Regions from separate parts of the Homo sapiens genome. Here all the other regions are linked to region 1. The links are contacts of gene promoters, found by promoter capture Hi-C in human tissues and cell types (Jung and others, 2019). All regions are on one chromosome and are shown on one strand. The core of a region is centred on a gene start or on the middle of the fragment in contact, and the rest is flanking DNA. Distances in the headings are between cores, read along the strand shown. Region 1 holds the start of EPHX2 (epoxide hydrolase 2). Region 2 overlaps ESCO2 (establishment of sister chromatid cohesion N-acetyltransferase 2). Region 3 overlaps CCDC25 (coiled-coil domain containing 25).

Region 1 (4,532 bases), core at 1,018-3,517:
TAGAAACAGAAGAAAGGGATTTAAGATGAGAGACTGCAAGCCTACACAATCTTTGAACGGAATGGAGGAGTGAGCTCCAGACTGAGCCTTTAGGAAGGACTCCCAGAAAACACCACCATAGAACTAGAAGCTGCTATCTCTGCCTCAATCAGCAGGCCACCGCTAGAAACACGAACATATGGTTTGGCTGGGAGCCAAGGATCTGGAAGCAACTCCGTGGTCTCGGGACTGAGCCACTGAGTCAATGGGGATGCCAGTTTGTAAGATAGGGAACACACTAGGAGGAACAGGCGTGGGAAGTAGAAATGCAGAGAGAGTTCTGTTTTAGCCATGATAAATTTGAGATGCCTGTTAGACACTCAAGAGAAGATGTTCAGTAAGAAGTTGGATATTGACGTTGAGTAAGATGTTGAGTAAGAAGTTGGCAAGTCTGGAGCCCAAAGGAAACTCTAAGTTGGAGATTTAATTTCTTTCTTTTTTTTTTTTGGAGGTAGAGTCTTGCTGTGTCACCCAGGCTGGATGGAGTGCAGTGGCACAATCATGGCTCACTGCAGCCTCCACTTCCTGGGCTAAAGTGATCGTCCCACCTCAGCCTCCTGAATAGCAGAGACTACTGGCATGCACCACCATGCCTAGCTAATATTTTATTTTTATTTTTTATAGAGAGAATGTCTTGCTTTGTTGCCCAGGCTTGTCTCAAACTCCTGGCCTCAAGCAATTCTCCCACCTCAGCCCCAAAGTGCTGGGATTACAGGTGTGTGCCACCATGCCCAATCTGGAGATTTAACAGGTTTCATACTATATAGGTCAGGCTGCAATTTTCTTTCTATTTTTTAAAATTCAATTATACCTTTGAGATCAACTAACTTCATGAGAAACTAGCTTGCTGTACTCCCTTCTCTGCCTATCTTTCAGTCTTCAAATCCAGAGTAATCCAGTTTCTACCATAAAGGGCCCACAAAAAGTGTTCTGAAACATCCGGTGTCATCCAAGTCCAAAATTGGACAGCTTTTTTTTCAGTTCTTCCTGTAACATTTGGCAGTGTTGGCCACTCTCTGCTTCTTTGGCAAGAATCTCAGAAAACACTAATAACTGCTCCAGGCAGGAGCCTGGAAGAGGTTACCAAGCTAGAGAAGGAAGCAACAGCATAGCTTGCTAAGGGCAAACAGCCCAGAGGAAACCCACGGCTCTGGTCAATCCTGTTGTTGATTGCTAGATCCAGAGACTGTTGTAGACCTCCCAGTTACAGTGAGGTATCTGACAACCCCTCACAAGGTTCTTGAAGCTCCGTGGTGGAGGGTATCTTGGATAAATCCACAGAGACACATTCAAGAGTAAATTCTCCACTGTTGGAGACCTCACTCACTCTGTTTGGTCTCCACCAAAGACACGGTTTTTAATTCATGGAGCTGCACTACAACAGCTCAAGAACTCCCAGCCAAAGTTTTAGTTTTTCTAGGAACATAAACGAGCCAATAGTGTGGAAATCGGTGATTAAAAACAAACCTCGCACATTTTAAGACAGAATTATTACAAGTAGCATGTACAAAAGGAAAATAATAGCCTACATTTAGTTCTTCTAAGCTTCATTCCACAAGAGATTGAAATCGAAGTATTCTGGGCTGGCACACGATAGCTGGAACATCATATTTTATTCTAGAAACACATTTGCCTTGGCAAAGAAGAGCGTGCCTAGAGGAGTGGTCAGGATAGTGAGGGATCTGTGATCCTTCGTTCTGAATCTAGAAAAGTCACTGGATATGCCCCTCCCCCGCCCCCCAACACGGTCTTATGTTCTGAATGTAGAAGTCACTGGATGTGCTGACACACACACACACACACACACACACACACACACACACACACACACACACACACAGAGTCTGTGGCCTCTTTCCCAGGCATTCCAAGTCCAGCAAGTTCGCAGGGAGCTGTCAGTCCGTCCAGGAAGGCCCGGGCCTGGGTTTGCCTCTTCAAGCAGCTACTGCAGGGGCGTGGGGAGGGGGCATAAGAGACTTTGGACTTTCCTTTGAGACAGTAGAAAGCGTTACATCCAGAGGCGAGATTCTAGCCTGGGGTCCCCGCCTTCCCGGCCTCCTCTTCCTCTCCCTCTGACTCCCTTTCCTGTGCCCCTCCCCCTGCCTCTTTCCCGGCCAGAGTCCAGCCTTAACCCGGGCAGAGGGCGGAGTCCCGTTAAGGGGGTGTGGGGAGGAGGCGGGGCCAGGGCAGGGGCGGGGCAGAGCCGGGCCAAGCTGGGCGGGTCATGCGCCCTGGCCTTCGCGCATCTCCCAGGTTAGCTGCGTGTCCGGGTGCTAGGCTGCAGACCCGCCGCCATGACGCTGCGCGCGGCCGTCTTCGACCTTGACGGGGTGCTGGCGCTGCCAGCGGTGTTCGGCGTCCTCGGCCGCACGGAGGAGGCCCTGGCGCTGCCCAGGTAAGGGGGCCCAGCGCCGCCGCCGCAGTGGGTCGGGGCCTCAGGAGGCAGACCGCGCTGGGCTTGCAGCCCAGCTTTCAGATTGCTCCTGTGCCGGAGCCCTGCGAATCATGCGAATCATGAAACTGAAGACCTGGCCCTGAAGTCCCAGTGCATATGAGGAGATCCGTTGTCTTTCTAAATGTTCATAATTAAACGTTGCCAAGGTCTCCAAAATTGCTTTCTGTGAACTTTTCCAAAAGGGAGAGGAGTTACTCATGGAGCTTTGTGCTTCTGCTGCCTCCTGTCTAATGGGGTGGCGCTTAAAGATGCGAGCCGAGATTCAGGAGAGAAGAAAGTTCTCTCCCCAGGTGTGGGTTGCATGCTTACTTGTGTAATAGCAAACTGCAGCAACCGCCCAAAGCCACATCACTGGGAAATGGTAGATGGGGTGTGCAGAGTGAGAGCTCAGGGACTTGGGAAAACACCTGTTCTACTACATGAAAAAACCACCCCACCAGAATCTGAAGCTATTTATACAATATGGTTTCAGCTATGGAAAAAAGGTACATGCAGAAAAGTGCCTGAAAGAAATAGGCCAAAGTACATCAAATGAGATTAGGAATAATGTAATGATTTTCTTTCTCTCTCTCTTTTTTTTGTGTTTTTTTTTTTTGTAGTTTCCAACTTCTAAATTTATAAACAATGTATTATTCCCACATTCAGAAAGGAGAGAAGTATACTTATTTATAAAGTGAAAAAGAAGGCCAGGCATGGAAGCCATTGTTCATATCCTCCTTTTACATATGAGGAAACTGAGGCACAGAAAGAAACCAGCTGTCCAAATCACATAGCTGTTAAAGAGCAGAGCCAGAAATCCAACCCCAGTAGTCCATGTCCGGAGCCTTTGCTTTTAATATAGTAAGGAAGATGAGATGGCAAGTAGCTTGAGGGAAAGGCATGTAATCTCTGTGCTTTGGGAAGCTAAGGTGGGAGGATCACTTGAGGCTGAGAGTTCAAGACCAGCCTGGGTGAAAGAGCAAGACCCTGTCTCTCCAAAAATAAAAATAAAATTAGCTAGACATTAGTGCATGCATGTAGCCCCAGCTACTTGGGAGGCTAAGGCAGAAGGATTGCCTGAGCCCAGGAGTTGGAGGCTATAGTTGTGTCCAGAGTTGGTTCCTGTCGGTGGGTTCGTGGTCTTGCTGACTTCAAGAATGGAGCTGTGGACCTTCGCAGTGAGTGTTACACTCGTAAAGATGGCGCAGACCCAAAGAGTGAGTGATAGCAAGGTTTATCGTGAACAGCGAAAGCACAAAGCTTCCACAGCATGGAAGGGGACCCCAGCAGGTTGCCGCTACTGGCTGGGGTGGCCAGCTTTTATTCCCTTATTGTCCTCTCCCATGTTCCATTTCTGTCCTATCAGAGTGCCCTTTTTTCAATCCTCCCCGTGATTGGCTACTTTTAGAATGCTGCTGATTGTGCGTTTTACAGAGCGCTGATTGGTGCATTTTACAATTCTCTTGTAAGACAGGAAAGTTCCCCAAGTCCCCACTCGACCTAGGAAGTCCAGCTGGCCTCACCTCTCAATCCTCCCTCATAACAGGACACCCCACCTGCTACTGGGAACTGGGTGATGACCACTCTAGCTACTTCCTGCTGGATAGGGGCAAAGAAGGGGCCCTGCCGTTGTAGTGTCCTCCAGAGGGGAACTCTCTAGGCCAGTCAAAGGGCCAGTGGGTCAGTCTAGCAGTCCTCGGTAGAAGTTGTGAGTTAAGCTCATTTGGGGTTCCATTTGTAAGACCATCTGTAGCTTGATGGCCTTGATCCTGGAGGAAACAAATTTGAGGAGGAGGTTAAAAATACAGGGACTGAAGGTGAGTAATAGCAAGATGGCTGTCACGGGACCTAGAAAGGGGAGAAGCCAAGTCACCCAACTCCAGAGGTTGGTATAAGAATTTGAAAGGTGTTGTCTGGTTTCAGAAGCCTTTTCCTGTAAATGCCAGGCAGCATCCTGTACTATCCCTGACTGGTTAGTTTAAAAACAACACTCCTCCCCTAAGAAGGTGCAAAGTCCTCCTTTCTCAGCAGTGAGGAGGTCTAGACCTTAGCGGTTTTG
Region 2 (4,532 bases), core at 1,364-3,863, 290 kb after region 1:
TGCTAAATACCCATGTCTGGGATTCGTCTCTGCTAGCTAAGGGCGAATCTGATTTTCTGTTTTTTTATTTTGAGATGGAGTCTCACTCCGTTGCCCAGGCTGGAGTGCAGTGGCATGATCTCAACTCACTGCAACCTCCGCCTCCCAGGTTCAAGCAATTCTCTGCCTCAGCCTCCCAAGTAGCTGGTATTGTAGGCACCGGCCACCACACCTGGCTAATTTTTGTATTTTTAGTAGGAACGGGGTTTCACCCTCTCAGCCAGGCTGGTCTTGAACTCCTGACTTTGTGATCCACCTGCCTTGGCCACCCAAAGTGCTGGTATTACAAGTGTGAGCCACCGCGCCTGGCCGGTGAATCTGATTTTTGTGAGGATACCCTTTCCCCAACTCATGGAGCCCTGAAAAGTGTTAAACTGATGGGTTATCCCACCTCTGCTGGGATATTATGGTTTTGAGTAGAAGTTCTACTTTAACCAAGAGTTTTTTTCCTTTTTCCCCAAGCTATATATTCCCTAGTAATTCCCAAATTAGTATGAGGGAAATCTGTCAGGATTTTTTTCTACTTTGCTTTTCCCACATTCCTGCTACTCTCCAGTGACTCTAGAATGTTCTTTCCTTAGCTGCTGATTTTTAAAGTTTATGGCAAAAAGTTGTCCCTTTCCAGTTTGGTGGCTGCTGGGGAAACTTTTGCCATTTTTACTGGCTTTTTTGTTCATTTCATTATGGAAGTGATGGTCTGTAATCATTCTGCCATCTCTGTCAGGAAGTATAACACATTTTTGAGAGGATGACAGATTACAACACGTGTACTCTGGCTTTTTTTTCTTTTGAGACAGTCTTGCTCTGTTGCCAGGCTGGAGTGCAGTGGCACGATCTTGGCTCACTGCAACCTCCGCCTCCTGGGTTCAAGCAATTCTCCTGCCTCAGCCTCCCGAGTAGCTGGGACTGCAGGTGCCACCACGCCCAGCTAATTTTTGTATTTTTAGTAGAGATAGGGTTTCACCATGTTAGCCAGGATGGTCTCAATCCCTTGACCTCGCAATCTACCCACCTCGGCCTCCCAAAGTGCTGGCATTACAGGCATGAGCCACCGGGCCCTGCTGTACTCTGGCTTTAAAGGTAATGTACGCTTAGTGAATACAGGGGAAGTTTTCCTAAAAATAGTTTGAAAATTGATTGAAAATCACATTATGAAATGTAATTCATAATAAACCAAATCTTTTGTTTTAGAAATAGATCTGCTGGGATTCATTCACTAGAAAATAGTTAAAAATTACAGATGTTTGGTTTTTTTTTTAAACCTATTTTCAGGATTCATCAGATGACAGAGTTTCTTCAAAGGAACATAAAGTTGATAAAAATGAGGCTTTTTCTTCAGAGGATTCTCTTGGTGAGAATAAGACAAGTAAGAGAAAACTCGCATGAATTTAGCTGCTTAAAATAATGCTTTATTACATACATTATACAATAATAATTCTTGTAATTTCTGGGTCTTTCTTTTTTCAGTAGCGTGCCTGTGGTTAGTATCTTTGTTTATCTCTGTGACACTGTTTTCTGTAGTAAAGCAGTGCATTGCGTTTTGAAAAACAAGAAACAAGGAGATCCTAGGTTAAAATTTTAGACAAAATATTAGGCTTAATTGGTCTATGGCTGTGGCCAAGTTACTTAAGCTCTCTAGAGTTGAGTGTTCTCATTATAAAATCATACCTACTCTATCTTTCACCCAAAATAATAGAAGTTAAAACTATTATGTATATTTGTGATCAAAGCCCAATTGTGAGCAGAACTTACTAAGTTTTATAAGTGACACTGAAATTAAGCATCAAGAACCATGGATTTTTGTCTAGGTTTACTAATAATTAGCTGTATGATCTAGGAAGATATCTCTAAAGAGTTAAAGTTAATTTTTAAATTCCTGTCAATTCTGAAATCCTATTCCTAATTTATGCTGTCAGTGTTCAATTAAATAGCTTACTAAACTATGAATACATAAAGCTTTTTTTTATGATTCTGAGATATGATGTTAATAACTAGTATTTACTGAGTGCTGAATATAAGGCAGTGCTAAATATTTAGTATACGTTATGTTTTTCATAGATTGTGCTCAAAGCACTGATACAATAGAAAATATAACAAAAAGGCATCTACTTAAAATAGTTATAAATTTTTCTTTTAAAATATATTTTAGTACATTGTCTAAGTCAATTTAAAGAAAAATAGTGAATAAAAATAATACAAATGGTATAAGGATATGGGAGAAATCATAAAAGTAATATAAAAAGACCAAAACTTTATTACTTAATAACTACAGTTTATCATTTAATTCTCCCTACTACTCTAGGTCCTGATATGCCCATTTATAGATGAGGAAATGGACTTGGGTTAAGTAACTTACCAATAGCAGCTCAGACTTTCACCTGCCTTGGCCTTGTTTCTAGAGGATGAGCTCTAATTATTTTTCAATGCAAAGTTAAAGTTTGTTTTTTTAGCCCACTCTCAGCTTACTATTTTCCTCAAATCAATTGCTGTTTTAACTTTGCTCTTTTCTTTTAATAGACTTTATTTTGCCATAATTTTAGATTTACAGAAAAGTTAAAGTACAGAGAGTAGCAGTGTATCTCTTACCCTGTTTCCTCCATTCTTAACATCTTATGTTATAATACTTTTGTCAAAACTAAGAAACTTGTATTGGTATAGACTTTTTTTTTTTTTTTTTGAGATGGAGTTTCACTGTGTTGCTCAGGCTGGAGTGCAGTGGCACCATCTTGGCTCACTGCAGCCTCCACCTCCAGGGTTCAAGCATTTCTCCCGCCTCAGCCTCCCAAGTAGCTGGGATTACAGGCATCCACCACCATGCCCGGCTAATTTTTGTTAAGATGGGGTTTCACCATGTTGGCCATGCTGGTCTCAAACTCCTGACCTCAAGTGATCCCCCCACTTCAGCCTCCCAGAGTGCTGGGATTACAGGCATAAGCCCTTGTGCCTGGCCCTAAGCACTAGACTTTATTTGGAGTTCACCAAATATTGGTAGTGGTATATTACTGTTAACTAAACTCTAAACTTTATTTGGAATCTTCTATTAATGTTTTCTTTCTGTCCCAGTATCCATTCCAAGGTACTATATTACGTTTAATTGTCATGTGTCTTTAGTCTTATCTGTGACATTTTCTGTCTTATTTCTTTGTTTGCATATTGCCAGCTGGACGTTGATATTTCCAACTCTAATCCAGTACTCCAGGATTTATTCTATCCTTTTTTCATCTGTAACTTCCTTCTCGGACAGTGAGACACTTAGTTCCTACTATTCACTATCCATCTACTTATTTGTTCTGTCCCAGTAAACATGTAAAACAGTTTCATAATTGTTAATTCATACCCCTGTGAGAAATAACCAATTAGAGTGCAATTTTTTTCTCTTTGAGACAGAGGCTCACTCTCACCCAGGCTGGAGTGCAATGGCGTAATCTCAGCTCACTGCAACCTCTGCCCCCAGGGTTCTAGCGATTCTCTTACCTCAGCCTCCCAAGTAGCTGGCATTACAGGTGTCTGCCACCATGCCCGGCTAATTTTTTTGTATTTTTAGTAGAGACGGGGTTTCGCCACGTTGGGCAGGGTGGTCTCAAACTCCTGACCTCAGATGATCCACCCGCCTTGGCCTCCCTTACCTTTCATCTCATAGTTCATGTTGAGGTTGAGATGAATCTTATCTAATTCAGTCTCTTTTTCTATATGTAATTATTGCTGAAGTAAGCTTTTGTGGAATCCTATATCAGCTCATGCCATTCTTCTCTAAATGTGATATATTTTCAATTTTTTCCCTTTGTAGAATTCCATATATAGTTAAATAATATATATATATTAAATAATATATTTTTTAGGATGACAGGCGTGAGCCACTGCACTCGGCCTAGAGTGCAATTTTAAGTGCAATCTTTTTGTCTTTATCCTTATAACTTCTAGTCAAAACACCATTTGCTAAAGTTACTTAGGACAGCTTCTCTTTTTCCCCCTACCTCCTTCAGTGTCGTTATGCTATACAGTTCTAATATAGTTAGATTCATTTCTCACAGTCTGCATTCCATCTTAGGCTACCTCAGTAGCCTGGTTGATATTTATATGTATTTTTTTTTCTCATTTGATGTACATTGGAGTTCATTCTTTGTGATTTTTACAGTTCTGTGGGTTTTATCAAATGTATAGAATTACGTATTAGCCATTACAGTACCATACAGAACAGTTCCTTCACCCTAAAATTTCCCTATGCCTACATTTTATTGTTACTCTCCTTCCCCTCAGCCCCCTGGCAACAATTAATCTGCTTTTTATTTCTATAGTTTTACCTTTTCCAGGAAAAACATTACACATATATATCCTTTGGGGTCTGGCTTATTTCACTTAGTAATACATTTAAGGTTCATCCATGTTGTTGGGTGTATCAGTAGTAATTCTCATTTATTGCTGAACTATTGACATACCATAAGCATTCTTTATATATTCTGGATACAAGTTTTTGATCAGATATATGATTGCAA
Region 3 (4,532 bases), core at 707-3,206, 270 kb after region 1:
TAATGGAGGTAAACACTTAGTAGTATTTGGCATATAGTTAAGTGCTTGACAGATATTCACTATCATAATAAAGCAAACGGGACCCAGGTGCCTTTATCTTCAGGGATAGCATTTGGTAGGAGGTATGAGGAGTCAGGAAGATGATATCCCACTCCATAGGCAGGACTGTGCTCTAGAAGAGAGGCAATACTAGGGTCAGAGTCAGTGGTGGAAGCTGAAGATGAAGAAAACGAAAGTAGACTGGGTGTGACAGTGTTATAGGACAGAAGCCCATGTATTCATAAAAGGCCCCAGGTCTGAATGGTAGAAGTCTATATGGTGTTCTAAGACAGAGAAAAGAATTCAGCTTAAATGAAGTCTTTTTGTTTGTTTGGTATTCTTTTTTTTTGGACTGGGTTTTGTGAGCAAAATAAATGATCTCAAAAGGAGACTAAGAAAGTATATGTTATTATTTAAAACAGTTCACATAAATTGTTTTAGAAAGAAGGCGTCGGGGTTGGATCAAGACAGAGCTAAACTCATCAGGGAGTTTAGAAGACAAAGGGGAACAAGTGTGCTTCCTTTAAAGCTGGACCAGTAAGAACCTCCGTCTATTCCATCCGCATGGATGCTTGTATCTATTTTCTTCATTGCTTCATGTGAAGTCTTCATTTTTCCACTCAAGAACAGTGGTCTGAATATTTAAGTGAGGTGTGGTCTCAGTAACTTACTATGGCGTGGAGACAAAAAGGAGGAAAAAGAAGGCCTGTGTCCTAGAGGCCTTTGCTCTCAAGCCTGAGATCAAACCCAAAAACATCATTTCCAACTTGCAAGGTAATTAGAAATGAAGGAACTGGCAGTCAGCTGTTTAACCCTGAAGACCCATAAACCACAGTACAAAGCATGATTCTAGTTTGAATGCTTGGCCAAGTCTAAGAAAGGAAATGATGATCTACAGAGGGCAGAACCAAAATTGTTACTTACCAGATATCTTCAGGCCAGCCATGCTTGATCAGATCTTCATCTGCAATGAGATATGAGAAACGAAAGAAACAAAAACTGTCAAATGAAGATATGCCAGGGTTTATAAGAATGGGAGAAATGTCAGCTCCTCCCACAAATTTCTCTCTCCCTCAATGAAGAAGAGTAATTCGGAGGCCTTGATGCTTGAAAATACAGAAAAAATAATAATTTTCATAATTGAACAATATGAACTTTATAATTTTTATAAATTTATATAATACTTCTAATCTAAAGCTCAGATATTATTTCTATATGAAGATAATAAAACTAACACTGACAAAACAAAGCAACCAATAGTTCAGATGTTTCAGATAATCAATTCACCTAATAATACTTAAACATTAAAAAGAACTGGCTGAAACTTTAAAGAAATATTTTACTTCTTTAAGAAAAATTAACTTGATTATAAAATTACAGAAAATTTAAAACAAAACAAACATTAGAAGTATAAAAAGAAAATAAAAATCACCTTAAATTCTATCACACATGGAAATAAAACACCAGAAGAAATAGCTAACAGAGTGAAAAGTAATTGTCTGGGGAGGTAGCAGGTGGGGTGGAACATGGGTATTAAGAAGGATTCTTTTTTTAATTCTAAGCATTCTATTACTACTTGACTTTTTAAACTATGTATTTGTTAGATACAAATAAAAATAAAGTTCTTTGGGAACAATGACTACCTAATTCTCTTATATGAATAAACTTTTCTATTGTTGGCCCTTGGTTTGTTTCTAATTATAAATGGTTCAATAAATTTTTTAAGTAAAGTTGTCCATATTTCTGATTATTTCCTTAAGGTATATTTCTAAAAGCTAAAGTATTCGCTCAAAGTGAATGCACATTTTTTAAGGCTAATATATATCACTACATAAAGGTTATATCAATAAATATTTCTACAGCCATATTAATAATTAGTAATAATTCTGTTTAATACAGAATTATTTAAGTATTAAATGCCAATTTAAAAATCATAAACAATACTGGGCACAGTGGCTTACGCCTGTAATCCCAGCACTTTGGGAGGCTGAGGCGAGCAGATCACCTGAGGTCAGGAGTTTGAGACCAGCTTGGCCAACATGGTGAAACCCCATCTCCACTAAAATTACAGAAATTAGCCAGGCATGGTAGCACGTGCCTGTAGCCCCAGCCACTCGGGAGGCTGAGGTGGGAGAATTGCTTGAATCCAGGAGGTGAAGGTTGCAGTGAGCTGAAATCACGCCACTGCACTCCAGCCTGGGTGACAGAGTGGGAAACTGTCTCAAATAAATAAATAAATAAATAAATTGTGAATGATTCATATGTGATGATTTAAAATGTACCCAAGAAAGTATGGTCTATATAATTTGAATGGGGTATTTACCATCCAGAAAAGGAAAAGCAAAAGGAAGACACATCTTGGGTAAAGGCACTCATAACAGTCGTAGACACTATGAGTTTTCTGAAAGGCTTTCTAATGCTTTAAGTAGGACTGAGCAAATAGCCAAAAGGTAAGCAAAAAAAGGAAAGAGAAATTTAAAAAATCTCTTTCCCTCAGTCAGGCAAAGTTTGGCTCCCTGATGACACCTGCTGGCTGATAAAAAGAACAGACCTGAAAGCTTTTCAGTGAAAGTAAATCATTCCACTTAAATTGATGTTTCTATCGAGTTCTTGGTCTGAAGTCATAAACACTATTAGAAATAAATGTAATGGGCTAGGAATGCCAGACAATGGGGTGATTTAGAGAAGTAATGTCCGTTCTTACAAGGCAACCTAGGAAAAGTTGATACCTCCAAATGACTCTAAGAGTTCCCAGGGAAAAAGTGTTCCATACATACATACATTCACTTACTTCAGACAACAGATTCTCGCTGTCTCTTAAGCTGGAATGCAGTGGCATGATCACAGCTCACTGCAGCCTACCTCCCAGGCTCAAGCGATCTTCCTGCCTCAGCCTCCAGAGTAGCAAGGACAACAGGTGTGTGTCACTATGCCCAGCTAATATTTTCTTTTATTGTTGTTTTTTGTAGAGACAGGGTCTCCCTATGTTGCTCAGGCAGGTCTCGAACTCCTGGGCTCAAGTGATCCTCTCGCCTCAGCCTGTCAAAGTGTTGGGATTACAGGCGTGAACCACCATGCCTGGCCTCTTACGTTTTTTTCTACAAAGGTTTTTAATGACAGCAAAATGCCACTCCAGAGGGCTCTAAAAATATCATCTAAATTTATATCTGTGACATAAATTATGTATCTAGATTTGTATCTATATATTCCTACAATAGACATTCAAAGGATTCCACAATCTAGTCCATCCTAACCCACTCCTCCACAAAGCCTTCTCAGCTTTCAATCACATTTACTATCTCTGATCTGTCTACTTCGACAGCATTTACTATTCATGTTACTTCATTTTGTCTATACTTTTTAAAAAATAGACCTTAGTACTTTTTCATGATAATAAAGTTGTGACATTAACTTTGGGTGTGATTTAATGGTGAAGCAGTCTGCAGCATATTAACACTTGAGTTTTACATTTCTCCTACTAACCCATAAATCATCACAAGTAACATTGATAGTTAAAGCATTTTTCTTATGTAGCTTAGGAGGTGCTGCTGTCTCCCTATGTGAGCTTGTTCTGTTTCTCAAAAGCTAGTTTATCAAAGTAGGTGAAAACTCAGAACCAACAAACTGGGTGGGGGGCATGGAAGGTGGTGAGTGAGAGATAACACTTACCTGCTGAAAATTTCAAAATCAAATGCTTTTGAAAACTTACTTTCATATTTATCTTTTCCCATGTAAATAGTGTAGGCAGATGAATTAACTAAGATAAAACAAAAATAAAAAACAATTAGTAACTTCATCACCAACAAAATTGTTTCATGTGAAAAACAAGTGACAATTCTTAGACTAGGGGCTGGCAAACCATGGCCCATGATCCAAATCCAGCCTACCACCTGTTTTTGGACAGCCCTTGAGCTAAGAATGGTTTTTACGTTTTTAAAGGGTTGGAAAAAAAGCAAAACAAAGAAGAATAAGCCACGGAGATTGTAGGTGACTCACAAAGCCTAAAATATTTACTATCTGGCCCCAAAAGAGAAAGTTTACCATCCTTACTAATAGCTACTTTCCTACTTTCTCAGGGTTACAGTTCAATGGTATCGCCAGTCCAGTCCTATACTTTTGCCTTCTTTAAGAGTTAAAAAAAAAAGAAAAGAAAAGAAAACTAAACACCACAACTAAGTTCCCATGTTTACCAAAGTTTTATTGTGCATAATTGTTTTTAGCCAATATTACCCATATTCCAGGTGTGCTGCATATTCTAACAGGCTCTCTATCACATTCAGGGAGACCATGACTCTCCAACTTCTAAACCAGTGACTCTGACCCCTGATCTACATTAGAATCATCTAATTATGCCCCAGCTCCACCTCAGATCAACTCAATCCAAATCTCTGGTGGGCAAGAGTGAGCATCTGTGTTTTCTAAAAGCCTTCCAAGTGATTCTAATATAAGGTCAGGGTTAGAAACAACTATCCTAACTCAAATGGAATCTTCTG

Evidence for each region. The method cuts DNA at HindIII sites, captures the fragments that hold promoters and counts their contacts. A contact is called where the count stands out against the background at its distance.
Region 2: a contact is called between a fragment that was not itself captured here and the fragment with the promoter of EPHX2 in region 1, in 1 of the 25 tissues and cell types used here (dorsolateral prefrontal cortex).
Region 3: a fragment that was not itself captured here is called in contact with the fragment with the promoter of EPHX2 in region 1 in 1 of the 25 tissues and cell types used here (hippocampus).

Annotation. Positions count from the first base shown.
Region 1 is chr8:27,488,876-27,493,407 of GRCh38, forward strand. It overlaps EPHX2 (epoxide hydrolase 2), which reads left to right and starts at 2,268. Exons shown (of 19, transcript NM_001979.6): 1 at 2,268-2,434. The coding sequence starts at 2,334. RefSeq lists a cis regulatory region at 11-325 and a silencer at 2,072-2,351. The HindIII fragment of the contact is 8,102 bases long and covers 1-2,658 here.
Region 2 is chr8:27,778,863-27,783,394 of GRCh38, forward strand. It overlaps ESCO2 (establishment of sister chromatid cohesion N-acetyltransferase 2), which reads left to right. Exons shown (of 11, transcript NM_001017420.3): 4 at 1,312-1,405. Among named protein-coding and RNA genes, the nearest start is that of ESCO2, 6.6 kb to the left of the region's middle. The HindIII fragment of the contact is 3,612 bases long and covers 808-4,419 here.
Region 3 is chr8:27,761,456-27,765,987 of GRCh38, forward strand. CCDC25 (coiled-coil domain containing 25) reads right to left here. Exons shown (of 9, transcript NM_018246.3): 2 at 3,749-3,796; 3 at 964-1,003. Among named protein-coding and RNA genes, the nearest start is that of CCDC25, 8.9 kb to the right of the region's middle. The HindIII fragment of the contact is 3,611 bases long and covers 152-3,762 here.